Linked DNA regions of Homo sapiens: all the other regions are linked to region 3. Evidence: promoter capture Hi-C in 16 types of primary human blood cells and fetal thymus (Javierre and others, 2016). All regions are on one chromosome and are shown on one strand. Each heading gives the region's core, a stretch centred on a gene start or on the middle of the fragment in contact. The rest is flanking DNA. Distances are from core to core; before and after follow the strand shown. Region 1 has its middle 22 kb from the start of PTGER2. Region 2 overlaps PTGDR (prostaglandin D2 receptor). Region 3 holds the start of STYX (serine/threonine/tyrosine interacting protein).

Region 1 (3,352 bases), core at 146-2,645, 440 kb before region 3:
TAAGAAAGCAGAAATTAACAGTTTATTTTCTTCGATTAGGAAATACATTTTTATTTAAGTTAAAACCAAAAAGTCTCTCTGATTACATGGAAATTTTTCTTCTTTTTGTATGCATTATACATACTAAATTGTGTGTACAACATGCATATGCAGTTAAATAGTAATTATAAAGTAAATATCCATGTAGACATTGTGCAGGTCAAGAAACGGAATACTGCCAGTACCAGAAGCCTCCTGTGTGCCTTCCCTGATCACAGTCCCTCCCCCTCACCGAGATAAACCCTGTTCCGACTTTTAAGAAATCATGCTTTTGCTTTTCTTTATCTTACCCCATGTGTGCATCATAATATATGTATTCAGTGTCTTTTTCTCAAGCTTAGTAATGTGTCTTAGCTTGGATTCCTCACATGCAGTCTAGGACAAAGAGTCAGGTGCATGTGACCTGTGGAGCTCCTGCTTTCGGGAGAAAAGCGGTGAAAGCAGCAGGACAGGGCAGGGACGGAATCAAGGCAAGGATGAGGTCTCAGCTCTGCCTGATCTCAAGGGGGGGCTCTGGAGCTTGAATAGCACCACACTGTTGGTCCCACCAAGACACTTGTGAAAGCCTGTTACTAAGTTTTTGGCCCACGTGTTCCCGGTGGTACCCTTTGAGCCAAGGGCAATTTTCCAGAAAAGGGGCCAGCTCTGAGCCATTAGAAACCATAACCCACAGGGGCTGGGGGCAATGGCTTGGAAAAGGAGATCTGGATGATATTCACCATATAGTATGTTTGTGAGATTCATACTTTTTGTACGTGTAGCTGAGTTCCTATATTTTCATGGCCAAATAGTATTCCATGGTATGAATATATCGCATGCTGTCAATGGACATTTGGGGTATTTCTAGATTTGCCTACTAGAAATAATGCTGTTTTATGATTCAAGGGGCAAAAAAAGAAAAGAAAAATAAACAATGCTGTTTTAACTGTTCTTATTATGTCTTGTGTTGGACATGTGTACGAGTATCTCTAAGGCATACATCTAGGAGTGGGATTGCAGGGTTATAGGATATGTGCACCTTTTATTATATCATAAAAATTGTTTTCCAATTTACACTAACACCAGCATTGTTTTCATTGCTCTACATCTTTGCTAACACTTGTATTGTTAGATTTTTAGTTTTAGCCATTTTGGTAAGTTTGTAATGGTATTTCATTGAGGTTTTAATGTATTTTTCATATTAATAATGATGATATTGCACACCTTCTCATACATTTATTGGCTGTTTGGAAATTCTAGTTTATAAAGCTTCTGTTCAAGTCTTTTGCCTTTTTAAAAAATATAATGTTTGTTTTTCATATTGATTTATAGATGTCCTAACTACTGTTACTTTGTCAGTTTTATGTGTTGGAAAAATCTTTTCCCATTCTTTAATCTGTCTTTTCACTCTCTTTTTGATGACTTTTAATTAATAGAAATTTTTATTTTATTAGAATCTAATTTCTTAAACTTTTCTTTTATGGCTAAGCTTTTCATGTTTTATTTGAGAAATGTTTTCTAAACCTAAAATCATGAAATATTTTTCTATACTACTTTATAAAAGCTTTATAGTTTTGCCTTTCACTCTTGAATTTGAACCCACCTATGATTTATTTGGTGTATGGTGTGATATAAATATCCAGTTTTGTACTTTCACCATATAAATAACCACTTGTCCAAGTATCATTTATCAAAAAGTTTATCTTTTCCCCATTGATCTTAAATATCATATCTGTCACATATGAAGTTTCCATATTTGTATGTTTGTTTCTATTCCATTGGCCTGTTGTCTTAGGTACATTAATGCTTCCACCTAGCTCTCTTTGAAGGGGGCCCTTTTAATCTTAGTGCTTTAGTTCCACCAAAACCTGCTGGGATTTTCACTGGAATTGCACTGAATCTATTGATTAATTTTGTATACTTTTCAATTTATTTATGTCCTTTTCAATGTCTCTTTATAAAAGTTTCAAAATTTTACTGAAGTATAACATGCATACAGAGAAATATACGAATTATAAGTAGACAGTGAAATGAATTTTCACAAAGCAATACACCTAAGTTACTAATATCCAGATTAAAAAAAAAAAAAACAAAAAACACAGAATCCCAAACCCCTCCAAAATCCCTTTTTTAGCTACTGACTTCACCCACAAGAGGAAACCACCTTGAGTTCTAATACATGAATTTTGTCCACTTTTGAACTTTATATAAATGGAATCAGTATGTACTTGTTTTCTTTCACTCAGCAGTATGCTTGTGAAATCCGTCCGTGTTGTTCAGAGTTATATTTTGTTTATTCTCTTTGCTGTAGTGTTCTACTGTACGAATTCCACCGTATGAATTTACCACAATATATTAATCTATCTATTGCAGATGGACATTTGAGTTATTTCTAATTGAACCTATTACAAATAGTAATAAGCAGCCGGGCGCACTGGCCCATGCCTGTAATCCCAGCATTTTGGGAGGCCAAGGTGGGTGGATCACCTGAGGTCAGGAGTTTGAGAACAGCCTGGCCAACATGGTGAAAACCCGTCTCTACTAAAAATACAAAAAAATAAAGTTAGCCAGGTGTGGTGGCAGGCACCTGTAATCCCAGCTACTCAGGAGGCTGAGGCAAGAGAATCGCTTGAACTCGGGAAGCGGAGGTTGCAGTGAGCTAAGATCACGCTACTGAACTCCAGCCTGGGCAACAAGAGCGAAACTCTGTCTCAAAGAAAAAAAAAAAAAGTAATAAGCATCCTTTCACACATCTTTTGGGAACATACATATGCATTTCTATTAAGGATATAACTGAATGTAATTGCTAGGTCATAAGTTTTGCCCTTAGTAAATACTGCCAAGGGGTCTTCCAAAGTGGATTGTGTCAGTTCATACTTCCACAGCAATGTATAAAGGCCGAGTTGATCCACATGCTCATCAATACTTCCTATTGTCTTTCTAGTTCGGTTTAGCCGTTCTGGGGGTATCGAGTGGTATCACATTGTGGCTTTAATGTGCATATCCCTGATCCACACCTTTTCCTATGTTTATTGTCCTTTGCATATCCCTGTCTGTGAAGGATCTGTCCAGGTCTTTTCTCCACTTTTCTATTCAGTTATCTGTCTTTTGCTTATTGAATTTCAAGAGTTTCATTATCTGAATCTATTAGGTTCTTGACTTTGTGACACTACATGGCAAAATTTTGCCTAGTGTGGAAATCCTAATGCATCCAAATCTATTTGGTTCCTGGAGTTCAAAATGAAAATGTAGATAATGAAGGATACCTGAAGTCACTGTAGGTCTATTCCTGCTGATTCTGACTGATGTTACCTTATCTTCTGGTGAGCTTGGG
Region 2 (3,454 bases), core at 867-3,366, 450 kb before region 3:
AGCATTAAAGTGAATTTTAAAAATCATACTCCAACAAACTTTTCATCAAGATTAATCAAATACAATATTTATGTTATGGAGAAGTTGTTAAGATTCCCTCCGCCCCCGCCCGACTTCAGATGGGCGAGGGCATCCAGATTAAACAGCTGAGTCCAGTGTAAGGTGTCTTCCTAAATGCACTAGATTGGAGTGGCTGAGCCTGCTGAAATGCTCTACAGAGAAGAAAGTAGAACAGTAAGGAAATGATTATGGGAAAAATGCATCTTCTCCAGGAGATGCTCTCTGATTGCCTCGAATGGGTCCAGTCTCTTATCCATATCCCTTCTTACTAATGTTGAGTTTGCACGCTTCCTGTTCCATTAGAGTCCATTTATCCTAAAATGTATTTAGAATTGTAGGCATAGAGAATGTAATGGAAAAAAGAAAAAAGTGGCCAGCCTTAGGCAGAGTGGAAAGCAATGGTTGTGCTGATCTAGAGATCAGTGTTGGCTGAATGGGAGGAAAAGCTGTTGTTTGAGGCACTTTGCAGGGCTCCAAGGAGGCTACAGAGACCTCAGGGAAGATCAAGACAAGAGGAGTTGGTTGGACCTAGGTAAGGCAGCCTTATATTTTTGTGCATGTTTTTGCCTTCTAGATTGAACAAGAAAAAAAAAAAGGATGTCAACCATGAAAAAGTAACAATTTGTGCTAAAAATAAGTATAGCAATTTACATGAGTTGAACAGTATTTTTTTCCAAGTCATCTCAGGTCTTTTCATTGTCATATTTCCAATCTCTTCACATTGATTAAAAGCTTCCATTCTATTGGTGTCTCCATACATATGACATTTCACAGGTGTGACTTATTTCTGAGAGAACTAATAGGAGAAGATAGGAAGCAGGGAGAAGAAAGAAAGGAGAACTGAAGAAAGTAAGTGCAAGGACACTAGCTAGAAAGAGATTCTGTATTTATGAAAGCATGCTGACCCTGTTTCTAAAAGATTCAGCAGATCTTCATGGCCTGGCAGGGACCTAGAAACTTGAGCCCAGCAGGTAGAATAGCCTTCAGGGACTTAATCAGACTGGGTCTCCGACAAGTACTCAGCTTCCTTCCCACCTCCCAGGTCTGGCCACACCCCACCTTCCCAGCTCCCCACTTGCACCCATCAGCTGCTGTGGCCTTAGCTACTTGTAAATGTACCAAAAATGGGTGTTCCAAGCTAAGCTGTCATGTTCTTACAGTAACTTAGGTGAAGTAAGTGAATCCATTGCTGCCATTAACCTTTCCACATCATAATGGAATGTTTTTCTTCAAAACAGTATCGCGCTTACTATGGAGCATTTAAGGATGTCAAGGAGAAAAACAGGACCTCTGAAGAAGCAGAAGACCTCCGAGCCTTGCGATTTCTATCTGTGATTTCAATTGTGGACCCTTGGATTTTTATCATTTTCAGATCTCCAGTATTTCGGATATTTTTTCACAAGATTTTCATTAGACCTCTTAGGTACAGGAGCCGGTGCAGCAATTCCACTAACATGGAATCCAGTCTGTGACAGTGTTTTTCACTCTGTGGTAAGCTGAGGAATATGTCACATTTTCAGTCAAAGAACCATGATTAAAAAAAAAAAGACAACTTACAATTTAAATCCTTAAAAGTTACCTCCCATAACAAAAGCATGTATATGTATTTTCAAAAGTATTTGATATCTTAACAATGTGTTACCATTCTATAGTCATGAACCCCTTCAGTGCATTTTCATTTTTTTATTAACAGCAACTAAAATTTTATATATTGTAACCAGTGTTAAAAGTCTTAAAAAACAATGGTATTAATTGTCCCTACATTTGTGCTTGGTGGCCCTATTTTTTTTTTTTAGAGAGGCCTTGAGACATACAGGTCTTTTAAAATACAGTAGAAACACCACTGTTTACGATTATACGATGGACATTCATAAAAAGCATAATTTCTTACCCTATTCATTTTTTGGTGAAACCTGATTCATTGATTTTATATCATTGCCGATGTTTAGTTCATTTCTTTGCCAATTGATCTAAGCATAGCCTGAATTATGATGTTCCTCAGAGAAGTGAGGTGGGAAATATGACCAGGTCAGGCAGTTGGAGGGGCTTCCCCAGCCACCATCGGGGAGTACTTGCTGCCTCAGGTGGAGACCTGAAGCTGTAACTAGATGCAGAGCAAGATATGACTATAGCCCACAACCCAAAGAAGCAAAAATTCGTTTTTATCTTTTGAAATCCAGTTTCTTTTGTATTGAGTCAAGGGTGTCAGTAGGAATCAAAAGTTGGGGGTGGGTTGCAAAATGTTCTTTCAGTTTTTAGAACCTCCATTTTATAAAAGAATTATCCTATCAATGGATTCTTTAGTGGAAGGATTTATGCTTCTTTGAAAACCAGTGTGTGACTCACTGTAGAGCCATGTTTACTGTTTGACTGTGTGGCACAGGGGGGCATTTGGCACAGCAAAAAGCCCACCCAGGACTTAGCCTCAGTTGACGATAGTAACAATGGCCTTAACATCTACCTTAACAGCTACCTATTACAGCCGTATTCTGCTGTCCGTGGAGACGGTAAGATCTTAGGTTCCAAGATTTTACTTCAAATTACACCTTCAAAACTGGAGCAGCATATAGCCGAAAAGGAGCACAACTGAGCACTTTAATAGTAATTTAAAAGTTTTCAAGGGTCAGCAATATGATGACTGAAAGGGAAAAGTGGAGGAAACGCAGCTGCAACTGAAGCGGAGACTCTAAACCCAGCTTGCAGGTAAGAGCTTTCACCTTTGGTAAAAGAACAGCTGGGGAGGTTCAAGGGGTTTCAGCATCTCTGGAGTTCCTTTGTATCTGACAATCTCAGGACTCCAAGGTGCAAAGCCTGCTGCATTTGCGTGATCTCAAGACCTCCAGCCAGAAGTCCCTTCCAAATATAAGAGTACTCATGTTTATTTATTTCCAACTGAGCAGCAACCTCCTTTGTTTCACTTATGTTTTTTCCAGTATCTGAGATAATATAAAGCTGGGTAATTTTTTATGTAATTTTTTGGTATAGCAAAACTGTGAAAAAGCCAAATTAGGCATACAAGGAGTATGATTTAACAGTATGACATGATGAAAAAAATACAGTTGTTTTTGAAATTTAACTTTTGTTTGTACCTTCAATGTGTAAGTACATGCATGTTTTATTGTCAGAGGAAGAACATGTTTTTTGTATTCTTTTTTTGGAGAGGTGTGTTAGGATAATTGTCCAGTTAATTTGAAAAGGCCCCAGATGAATCAATAAATATAATTTTATAGTATTTTGCAGAGGAAATTACTTTTCTTTAAATGAAAGAAAAGGGCTTGGCTTTCTTTTTAGTAGACAGTTGCCAGCAATATTTCATTGTCTGGCAGTTTCCTAGTGTGGATTTTTATATACTGTCCGATTAACACTTACATTACTTTAAACAAGCTTTCATTAC
Region 3 (3,824 bases), core at 888-3,387:
TGGTCCTTTAGGTTCTTTAGCAAGTAAACTATTTGATAACCCAGATGGATTGTGGATTTTTGAATATTATTTTAAAATAGTACACATACTTAATGTTCATAAGATCATCTTCTTAAATAAAACATGGATGTGTGGGTATGTCTGTACTCCTCCTTTCAGAAAGTGTTTACATATTCTTCATCTACTGTGATTAAGCTCATTGTTGGTTAATTGAAAATATACATGCACATCCATAACTTTTTAAAGAGTATGATTCAACGTAATATTTGCTAATATGTGACTGGGTTTTCTTGGTTTATGTAAGACGATAGGTCCCTGTTGAGGATGTGGAGGTCTGGACCCTCTTCCAGGAAAAATTCTAACATACAATTTTGCGTATACTATAATTTCAGGAAATTTATTGTTTCCCAAGCTCATCCAAGGACTCTTTAGGTATGTATGGATACCTGGCTAAGAGTGTATGATGTAGGGGATGTAGGAGTGTCAGAAATGTTCAAAACATGATTTCTGTTACCTATACATGATTCTTATATCATCTGGCAATAAAAGCTATAACAAAGTACACAAAGGAATCATCATTGGGCATCAATAATTATTAAAGATGCTGGTGAAAAGAAAAGACAACTTCAGTTTCATAAACACTAAAGAACCAAAAATACATGACCTAGCTAATTATACAATAATTCTTCAAATTAAAAACTTCCTAGCAGGATATTATGTGCCTTTTTATAATTTTAGAAGATGAACAGTTAAAATAGAAAATGGAGTGGTCAAGTTAGCCATCTCATACTCAAATTATTGTACAGTTCTATTTCTATGTGTTGGCAGTGCATTTTATGTGACAAAAAGTAGAATGTAGGGGGAGGTTTAAGTCAAATATCTATGTGATCTTTTCACTTATAATTTGCATTTAGTTAAGGAGTGACTATCTTGCCTTTTACCTTTGTGCTGGCGGTGGTTTTTTAAAGAATCAATTTGGTGTACAAATCCTTTCTTTCTTTTTTTATTTTTGATTTTTTTTGAGATGGAGTTTCGCTCTTGTTGCCCAGGCTGTAGTGCCATTGCACTATCTCAGCTCATTGCAACCTCCGCCTCCCGGATTTAAGCGGTTCTCCTGCCTCAGCCTTCTAAGTAGCTGCGATTACTGGCATGCGCCACCACACCCAGCTAATTTTTGTATTTTTAGTAGAGACGGGGTTTCTCCATGTTGGTCAGGCTGGTCTCAAACTCCCGACCTCAGGTGATCCACACGCCTCAGCCGCCCAAAGTGCTGGGATTACAGGCGTGAGCCTCCGCGCCCGGCCCAAATCTTTTCACCATGGGTTTACAGGCATAACGCCACCACACCCAGGGAATTTTAAAATTGTTTTTTAGAGAGGGGGGTCTTACTATTTTGCTCAGGCTGGCAAACTCCTTTTAAAAGATATTGAAAGCCATCTGGTTTATTATTTTTATTTCAAAATATAATAATGGAAGAAATTTTACAGTATTATATACAATTTACTGAGTCAGCTATCAGTTCCTTTTTCTGATTTTTTTCTAGTTGCCATTCTTGATATTTTCTAGGTAATCTAAACTGAGTTGTATTTTCAAGTACTCTTAAAATACTTTAAAAAATTTTAAATTGAGCCGTTTAATTCTTTGCTTAAAGGTGATGGGTATTTTATTTTCTGTATGGCACCACGTGATTTTAAATTGAACTCTTCATTTATTAGTCATTTGGTTATAAACTCAGCATAGATTGCGCAGAATTTTGAGAGGGGAGAAACTATAGCTTTCCTTTCGGATGCCACTGGTGGGTAGCCTGTTTTGCCTGTTTGTTCTTATGTTAAAGAAGGGCTCTACGTCCTGTCTGGAAAGGGCGGAGCTGGCTCGGACCGCCCCACTGCCTTTCCCAGGACCTTCACTCGTCCTGTCCCACCGCAGCCCCGCCTCCTCCACGCCGGGTGAGCTGTGGCCTAGCAGCATCCGAGGCTCCGCCCCCCCCACCCCCAAGCGTCTGCGCTCTAGCGAAGGGGCGGAGCAGGGCGGTGGCGCGCTGACACCTGGCGGCGGCGGAGGGCGGGCAGAAGGCGAGCGTGGGCTGGGATTGGCTGAGGCGACGCGGGTGGAGGGGGCGGGAAGGAGGCGGGGAGACGGTTGTCGGGCTGGTTCCTGTGCTGGATCCTGGGCGGCCTGAGGGGTACGGAGACTCTGGGGGAGGGAGACGGCAGCGGCATGGCGGCCGGGTGTAAGACGCCCGACCCTCCTCTTCCCTGTCTTCGCCGCCGCCGCTGCTGGAGTCACTGGGACCCTGTAGTCTGCGTGTGTTAGTTGTAATCCCGCCGCCCTCCTGTCAGCCCTCCGCTCCGCCGGCCCTCCTTCCTTCCGCCGCCGCAGCCAGCCCGAGGGTCGGCCGGCTGTGTAACACTCTCCCACCCCACCCACCAGCCCGCGGGCCAGCACCATGGAGGACGTGAAGCTGGAGTTCCCTTCCCTTCCACAGTGCAAGGAAGACGCCGAGGTGAGTCGCTCCCGTGGCTGCCACGCACAGGCCTCTCCCTGTGGCTCCGGCCGAGGGGCGACCCCAGTCCCCAACCGTCTTAGCCGCCACCTGTACGGGCGCCCTGCCTCCTAAGGGCGTCCCGGGACCTCTGAAGCCGAGCGGTCGGCTCCAATCCCCACTGAGTTGCTCGTCCTCTCCAGACCCCGCGGAGGGGCAGCGTCTGGTGTACTTACATTTGAGAAGAGGAAAAGCAATCCCTTAGTCCCTAGGCTTGGCATCCAGGACTGACCTGGAGTAAGGTTCCTCTTTTATTGTCAAAGTAACAAGAGAGCGAAGTTGGTTTAGTCTCCTTTTGAGGAATATCTGTGGTGTAAACGATTCACTTGTGGGACACATGGCCCCACATGTGAAATAGACTCGGCGCCTGAAGTTTGGAAGCGCGCCTTCGAAAAGTTTCCCAAAGTTTTTTGTTTGTTTTTAGACAAAGCTATGACCCGCACAACAAAGTGTCTCAAAGCTAGCTCATCTTAATCTGAGAACTCTTAATCAGAAATCTTGACCTTTGGAGGAAAATTAATATTGAAAGTAAAATACTATATACCTTTTCTCCTGGTTTCTAATTTGTGGCTATTTTTACTCCACCTTAGATCCCTGCCTGCTGTTTCTACTCGGATTTTTTTTCATCTGTTGCTAGTTTAACATTTTACGGCATTGCAGACTACTAAATTAGAATTTTCTGGAGGCTAAATTAACAAGACGAAGATACTCAGCTATACTTTAGTAGGATTAAGAAAGAAAATCTAACATCGCTAGTTAAAAATACCTTTAAAGTAGTTGGGAAAAATAAAGCCCTATTTTTAGGAGACCATTCAATTTATTCCGAATATTTATTCTATTGAATATCTTCATTGGAGGTTCACTTTTTTTTTTTTTTTTTTTTTGAGACGGAGTCTTGCTCTGTCGCCAGGCTGGAGTGCAATGTGGCGCGATCTCGGCTCACTGCAACCTCCGCCTTCCGGGTTCAAGCGATTCTCCTGCCTCAGCCTCCTGAGTAGCTGGAACTACAGGCGCGCACCACCACGCCCAGCTAATTTTTGTGTTTTTAGGGGAGACGGGTTTCACCATTTTGGCCAGGGTGGTCTCGATCTCCTGACCTTGTGATCCGCCCGACTCGGCCTCCCAAAGTGCTGAAATTGCAGGTATGAGCCACCGCGCCCGGCCTAGGTTCACATTTTTGTTTGGAGGGCTCTCTTGTGGTATTGATGCTTGACAATTACATTTGTTTTAAGAGTAGAGACTTTGTTTGTGACTATCACTGTTGCAAAATGTAGTGCAGTGG

What was found. The method cuts DNA at HindIII sites, captures the fragments that hold promoters and counts their contacts. A CHiCAGO score of 5 or more calls a contact.
Region 1: a fragment that was not itself captured here is called in contact with the fragment with the promoter of STYX in region 3 in 1 of 17 cell types (total B cells); the score reaches 9.8 in total B cells.
Region 2: a contact is called between a fragment that was not itself captured here and the fragment with the promoter of STYX in region 3, in 1 of 17 cell types (total CD8 T cells). The highest score is 5.8, in total CD8 T cells.

The regions. Positions count from the first base shown.
Region 1 is chr14:52,291,124-52,294,475 of GRCh38, forward strand. No RefSeq gene overlaps it. Among named protein-coding and RNA genes, the nearest start is that of PTGER2, 22 kb to the right of the region's middle. The HindIII fragment of the contact is 220 bases long and covers 1,286-1,505 here.
Region 2 is chr14:52,273,433-52,276,886 of GRCh38, forward strand. It overlaps PTGDR (prostaglandin D2 receptor), which reads left to right. Exons shown (of 2, transcript NM_000953.3): 2 at 1,299-3,292. The coding sequence ends at 1,532. Among named protein-coding and RNA genes, the nearest start is that of PTGDR, 7.5 kb to the left of the region's middle. The HindIII fragment of the contact is 2,652 bases long and covers 791-3,442 here.
Region 3 is chr14:52,728,029-52,731,852 of GRCh38, forward strand. It overlaps STYX (serine/threonine/tyrosine interacting protein), which reads left to right and starts at 2,138. Exons shown (of 11, transcript NM_145251.4): 1 at 2,138-2,503. The coding sequence starts at 2,447. It overlaps PSMC6 (proteasome 26S subunit, ATPase 6), which reads left to right. Exons shown (of 14, transcript NM_002806.5): 14 at 1-562. RefSeq lists silencers at 1,823-2,282, 2,353-2,432. The HindIII fragment of the contact is 7,384 bases long and covers 1-3,824 here.